Regions from separate parts of the Homo sapiens genome. Here region 2 is linked to region 1. The links are contacts of gene promoters, found by promoter capture Hi-C in human tissues and cell types (Jung and others, 2019). All regions are on one chromosome and are shown on one strand. The core of a region is centred on a gene start or on the middle of the fragment in contact, and the rest is flanking DNA. Distances in the headings are between cores, read along the strand shown. Region 1 holds the start of METTL3 (methyltransferase 3, N6-adenosine-methyltransferase complex catalytic subunit). Region 2 overlaps ARHGEF40 (Rho guanine nucleotide exchange factor 40).

Region 1 (2,855 bases), core at 255-2,754:
GGTGGAGGTTGCAGTGAGCTGAGATCACACCACTGCACACCAGCCTGGGCAGTAAGAATGAAACTCTGTGTCAGGCCAGGCTCGGTGGCTCACGCCTGTAATCCCAGCACTTTGGGAGGCTGAGGCAGGGGGGCAGATCGTAGGGGCAGATCACGAGGTCAGGAGTTCGAGACCAGCCTGGCCAACATAGTGAAACCCTGTCTCTACTAAAAATAAAAAAAATTAGCCAGGTGTGGTGGCACGCGCCTGTAATCCCAGCTATTCGGGAGGCTGAGGCAGGAGAATCGCTTGAACCCAGGAGGCGGAGGTTGCAGTGAGCTGAGACCACGCCATTGCACTCCAGCCTGGGTGACAGAGTGAGTGAGACTCCATCTCAAAAAAAAAAAAAAAAGAAAATGTGTCAAAAAAAGAAAGAAAGAAAGGATTGTAGGAAAAACCACCACCACCAACCTTGTATTTAAGTTTACTACACATACAGAAAAGTGCACACCAAAATGTTCAGCTCAATTACATTTCACAAACTGAACACACTCATGCAGGTAGCTCTCATAACAAAAAACACAACGCAACCAGGACCTCAAAGCCCTCTTAGTGTCGGAACCCGATTTTAATAGATTACACGTACTTTGTAAATTTAGCCTAAGAGAGAGATCACGTATTTGAAGACCTCTCGGATTTTTCCTTCATCAGCCCTCCCCACTTCCCCACGCCTCGTCAACACAAAGAAGCATGCCCGCACCCACCACCGCCCCCTCCTCACCTCAGATTGGGGACCACCGTTGTGTTTTTTATTTTTTTGTAAATGAACGCATGGAAACAAACCAACACCACCTTCAGTGGAAAAGGTATGTTAGTACCAAACTGTCAAAAGGAACTAGTGATCCTTCATCTTAAAAATCTGTACTATGGCCGGGTGTGGTGGCTCACGCCTGTAATCCTAGCACTTTGGGAGGCCAAGGAGGGCGGATCACGAGGTGAGGAGTTCGAGACTGGCCTGGCCAACACAGTGAAACCCCGTCTCTACTAAAAATACAAAAAATCTGCCGGGCGTGGTGGCGGGCGCCTGTAATACCAGCTACTCGGGAGGCTGCGGCAGGATAATCACTTGAACCCGGGAGGTGGAGGTTGCTGTGAGCCGAGATCGCGCCATTGCACTCCAGCCAGGGCGACAGAGTGAAACTCCGTCTCAAAAAAAAAAAAAAGAAAAAAACCCCCAAAACTGTACTATATGGTGTTGCTCTCTACGAGTGCTACTTTAACACAAGTCAACTCTCAGGACTCCTCTCCGAATATTCAACATGGCCGCATGCGCGTCTATAAGCAACATGGCCGCTCTGCCAGTCACCAACATGGCAACCACAGCCTCACTGTGTCCGGAAGCATGAGAGAGCGGGTATGAGGACTATACCGGCCGCTCTGCCAACACCTAACGTGGCTCTTTATAGCTTCCAAGAAAGCGCGACACCGGAAATGACTTTTCTGTCTTGCTCAGCTCCAGGGGTCATTTTCCGGTTAGCCTTCGGGGTGTCCGCGTGAGAATTGGCTATATCCTGGAGCGAGTGCTGGGAGGTGCTAGTCCGCCGCGCCTTATTCGAGAGGTGTCAGGGCTGGGAGACTAGGATGTCGGACACGTGGAGCTCTATCCAGGCCCACAAGAAGCAGCTGGACTCTCTGCGGGAGAGGCTGCAGCGGAGGCGGAAGCAGGACTCGGGGCACTTGGGTGAGGCACTGGGCTGTTGGGGCCGAGGCTCAACCGGGGAGGACGGGCGGGATCCCTAGAGAAAAAGCTCCAGAGTCACTGCCCTTTACCAAACGGCCATTTCTATAAAGCCTCGTACATTGGTACTCCCTCTCCACCTTCAGCAGCAGACGTTCGCCCTTCTGCAAGTAGTTCGCGGTTCCTCCTCACGCTGGGCCTCGGTTCTTCCAGCTCACTTTTACCGGACGGACGCTTGAGCCCCACCCTCGTCCGCCTTGCCCACTCCTCTTCAGACTGCGAGGACGTCGCCTTTGTGAGGCTGCTCAGCCCCCTATCCCGCGAAGCAGCAAGAACCCCTTTTTGTTGCTGCTTTGGCGCTTTGTTCCCTCAGTTATAACGACTGTTTTGTAGTGGTCATTTCTTGGCAGCTGTGGGTACAGTAAGCGAGGAATGAACCTTTATATCCGCAGTGCCCAATTTAGTGGCCCGTACAGAGTGGCACTGGGTGTTTCTGAATGAGTACCCCTACCGGCATTGACTTAGCCATTTACATACCTAGCAGGAATCTGAAAACATTTGTGTTTGGTTTCCAAACTTTTTCTCTTCTCCTGTTGCCCCCGTGTCACGATCATAAAACTTGAAGGAAATTTAAAAGATTAAATTCACTGTTATCCACTCCCTACCCTCAGGACAAACTCTGAATTATTTAAGGCAAACTAGTAACAAAGCTCTGCAAAAATAGTGACTCAGTATCACCTTTGTGGTAGATTGTTCCAATATTTGTCAGTATCTTCAACTGCATCTCTAAATCTTGTCTAGATCATGTTAGGTTCATGTGCTCGTATTCTGGCCCCTAGAAATAGAAGATGCACTGGCAGGATCCTCCCACCTAATTAATTACCTTTCTTGAGTATCTACAGTGTTCATGGGTCTAATTAGACAAAAATAAGGAAGAAATTGCCCCTGTCCTCAAGAAGTTTAAAAAGCATAGGATTCAAGGGGAGACGCTTACAAAAAGTGAGGAATATGATAAGATATATGTACGAAACCAAATGAATGAATCTACAGTCTGTACAATGAAGAGAAGTAACAAGAGCTGGTGTAGGTAGTGAAGCCATCAAAACCATCATAGTGGAATTGGCACTTGAATTTGGCC
Region 2 (2,855 bases), core at 229-2,728, 440 kb after region 1:
GTAGCCACAGCTACTCAAGAGGTTGACATGGGAGGATCGCCTGAGTCCAGAGGGTCGAGGCTGCAGTAAGCTGTGATCGAAGCATTGCACTCCAGCCTGGGTGACAGAGTGAGACTGTCTAAAAATAATAATTATAATAATTTATCATACTCCTCCTATCTCCCCAGTAGAACATGGCACAGTGCACATGTTTTCCTCATGATTTGGGAGCCATAAATACTTGTTGAATTGAATGGAATGGAAACCACTTTTTTGCAACCTCATGGTATGTCCTGGACATGGCCTCTCTCCTAGAATGTCTTCAGCTGGGTTATTCCTGGCTCCCAGCATGCTAGGTGGTAGAGGGGAAGCTTACCTGGTGTATCTCTACCCAGTGACTGGGAGAGGGGTCCCTGTGACCTCCTAACTCCCACTGCAGCTCCTCTGGCTTGGCCACTCTTTTCAGATCATTCTCTGACAGCACCTCAGCACCCTGTAGAGGGTAAGGCAGGGGGTTTCTTCCTGGGCACCCAAGGACTCAGAAACCAGCCTGGGGCTCCAGCCAGCCTCTTCTCCTCTCCCCACTACTGATGGGAAACTAGATGGGAATGAAGGGCTCAAACCTGAAATCCACAGAGTTCAGTTGGAAGGTCATCATGAATGAGAATCAGCAGCCGCTGAACAAGGGGAGGATCTCCTGAGTCCTAAGGGCAGAAAAGAATAACCCTAAACTGGGCAATCGGGTGTCCTGGACTGGCCACTGGTGAAGAGTTAGGATCCAGGGGAACTGCCTGTTTGAGGGGTGGTTACCTGAAGTTGGCTCAAGGCAGGAATGAGTGCTGGAGGCAGTGGAGGTGCCTGACGAAGGTCCAGCAGGACGGACAGCCCCAGTGTCTGTAGATCAGGCCTGCGGGAGCAGGAAGAGCCAAGGAGGCTGCTGTGTGTGTGTTTTGGGGGATAGCAGATAAGGCAAGGCAGACATACGGGGTCTGTTTTTAGTTAATAGTCCTGAGGAGAAATTAGTTGCCGGTACATTTGGGAAGAAATGGGCAAAGGGCCAAATTCTGGGGTGTGTGTACAAGAGGAAGTCACCTAGCAGTCAGGGGTCTATATTCATATGGCTACTAGGTCAAGGGATTAAGGTCTGGAAAATTAAGAATTCTGTTCTGAAATGGCGTGCATTCAATATCAGCCTGTAGTATGGTGCCTAATAGGTACTCAGTGCTCAATAAATGTTTGTTGAATCAGTGAACCAATGTCCTGATGATCTTGGTAGGGTTGGAAGAGAGTGAAAGTCAACAGTGTTGCTTTTGAAGATCAGTGAAGATATGAAGCTGGAGGTCAGGGTAAGTAAGGCCAAAGGTCAATGGCTTGAAGTCTGAAGGTTGAAGAAGTAGGTGTCCTTAGAGGTCAGAAGGTCAGTGTCCTGAGAAGAAGGAGGTGAGGGTCCTCATGAATCAGGAGGTTAGTGTCCAGGGTGCCAGGACTGGGCCTCGGTTACCTGAGCAGTGAGTGGAGGTAATGAAGAGTTGTGTTCAGCGTGTCTCGGGAGGGTGGGGGCTCCTCAGGAGGGCACGGTGGGGTAATGGTCAGCAGAGCTCGCCCACTCTGGTCCACCCCTCCTGAAGACACAAAATGGCCAGGCTGTCCTGGCTGGGAGCAGTCCATGCCTACCTCCTTTCCACCCTGCCTCCCCCAGTCCCCAAGCCCACCCAATTGCTTCTCTTTCCCAGTCCTGTTTCCCTTCACCCACTGATGCCCACTGACCCGTCAGGATGAGGAATCCAGATGCCATCAAGTCCCAAGCTACATCAGGGTGATCAGAGACGGAGACTGCAAGGGCCTCTTCTGGAATGTTGTCCCCTTTTCCTTCCTGCACAGTCTCCAGCGGAGGTGTTGGAGTGTCAGACAGGGGGCCTTCTGGGCCTGTGTGTCCTGCACAGACACAGACAGAAACATGGGACTGAAGTTAAGATGGTTCTGGTTGTTCTGCTCCCAGCCTAACCCTGCTCCTCCTCCTGCCCCCTCCCATAGGCCCGACCTGCTTTGGCCCTTGCCCCATGAGCCTCACTCCGTGTCATCTCACCTGCCATACACAGCAGGCCTGGCCCCTCCAGCTCTCTCTCTCCGGCCCCCTCTTCTGTAGGCCCACAGGCTTCAGAGAGCTGAGGCTCTTTCTCGCCTGCTGTTTTGAGCTCTTTTGGCTCAGATTCTGGCTTCCCTGAGCCTTCATATTCCTCCTTAACCAGGTGGCATTCTGGAAGCTTGTGCTCACTTGGTGAGGGCAGATTGCCAAGGGCTTCTTGGTGGCTGGCATCTTCCTTGTCCCCAGGGCTCAGTGGGGCACTGTCCCCTCCTCGGCTAAGAGCCCCTCGACCTGCAGCTCGCTTCTTTCTTCTGTTTCCTTTGCCTGTTCTCCGAGGGGTACCAGGTGGTCCTTCAGCCCCCTGGCCTCCTCCTCCTCCTCCTCTAAGCTCCCCTGGCCTCAGGGGGCAAGATCCGGAGGCTTCTCCCACAGCCTCTGCTGGGGGCTCAGACACCTCCAAGACTGCTGCCTCTGGGACAGCCTCAGCTCCTGGGGGAGACTCAGGGGAGGCTCCGGTGCTGCTCCCCTCGCCGGGTGGGCGTGCTCCATCCTGGCCCCGAGGCCCCAGGCCCTTCTGGTGCATCCACGCCCGGTGTCTCCGGTGGCGGCCCTTCCCTCCAGCGCCCTTGCGGGTGGGTACCGTCCGGACTCTGGAGAGGCCTGGGGAGCCTTCAGCATCTGTTGGGCTCCCCCTCACGGGCAGCGTCACCTCTAACAGCTCCACATACTCGCCCTCAGGTCCTTCCACAGGGGCATTGTGCCCATCCCCAGGACTCCGGGTACCCAGCGC

The links. Contacts are between HindIII fragments. The study calls those that stand out against the background at their distance.
Region 2: a contact is called between a fragment that was not itself captured here and the fragment with the promoter of METTL3 in region 1, in 1 of the 25 tissues and cell types used here (aorta).

What each region holds. Positions count from the first base shown.
Region 1 is chr14:21,509,989-21,512,843 of GRCh38, reverse strand. METTL3 (methyltransferase 3, N6-adenosine-methyltransferase complex catalytic subunit) reads left to right here and starts at 1,504. Exons shown (of 11, transcript NM_019852.5): 1 at 1,504-1,720. The coding sequence starts at 1,621. RefSeq lists an enhancer at 1,222-1,461. The HindIII fragment of the contact is 21,601 bases long and covers 1-2,855 here.
Region 2 is chr14:21,074,391-21,077,245 of GRCh38, reverse strand. ARHGEF40 (Rho guanine nucleotide exchange factor 40) reads right to left here. Exons shown (of 24, transcript NM_018071.5): 3 at 2,066-2,855; 4 at 1,747-1,914; 5 at 1,481-1,601; 6 at 790-886; 7 at 603-683; 8 at 356-472. Among named protein-coding and RNA genes, the nearest start is that of ARHGEF40, 5.5 kb to the right of the region's middle. The HindIII fragment of the contact is 3,154 bases long and covers 1-2,855 here.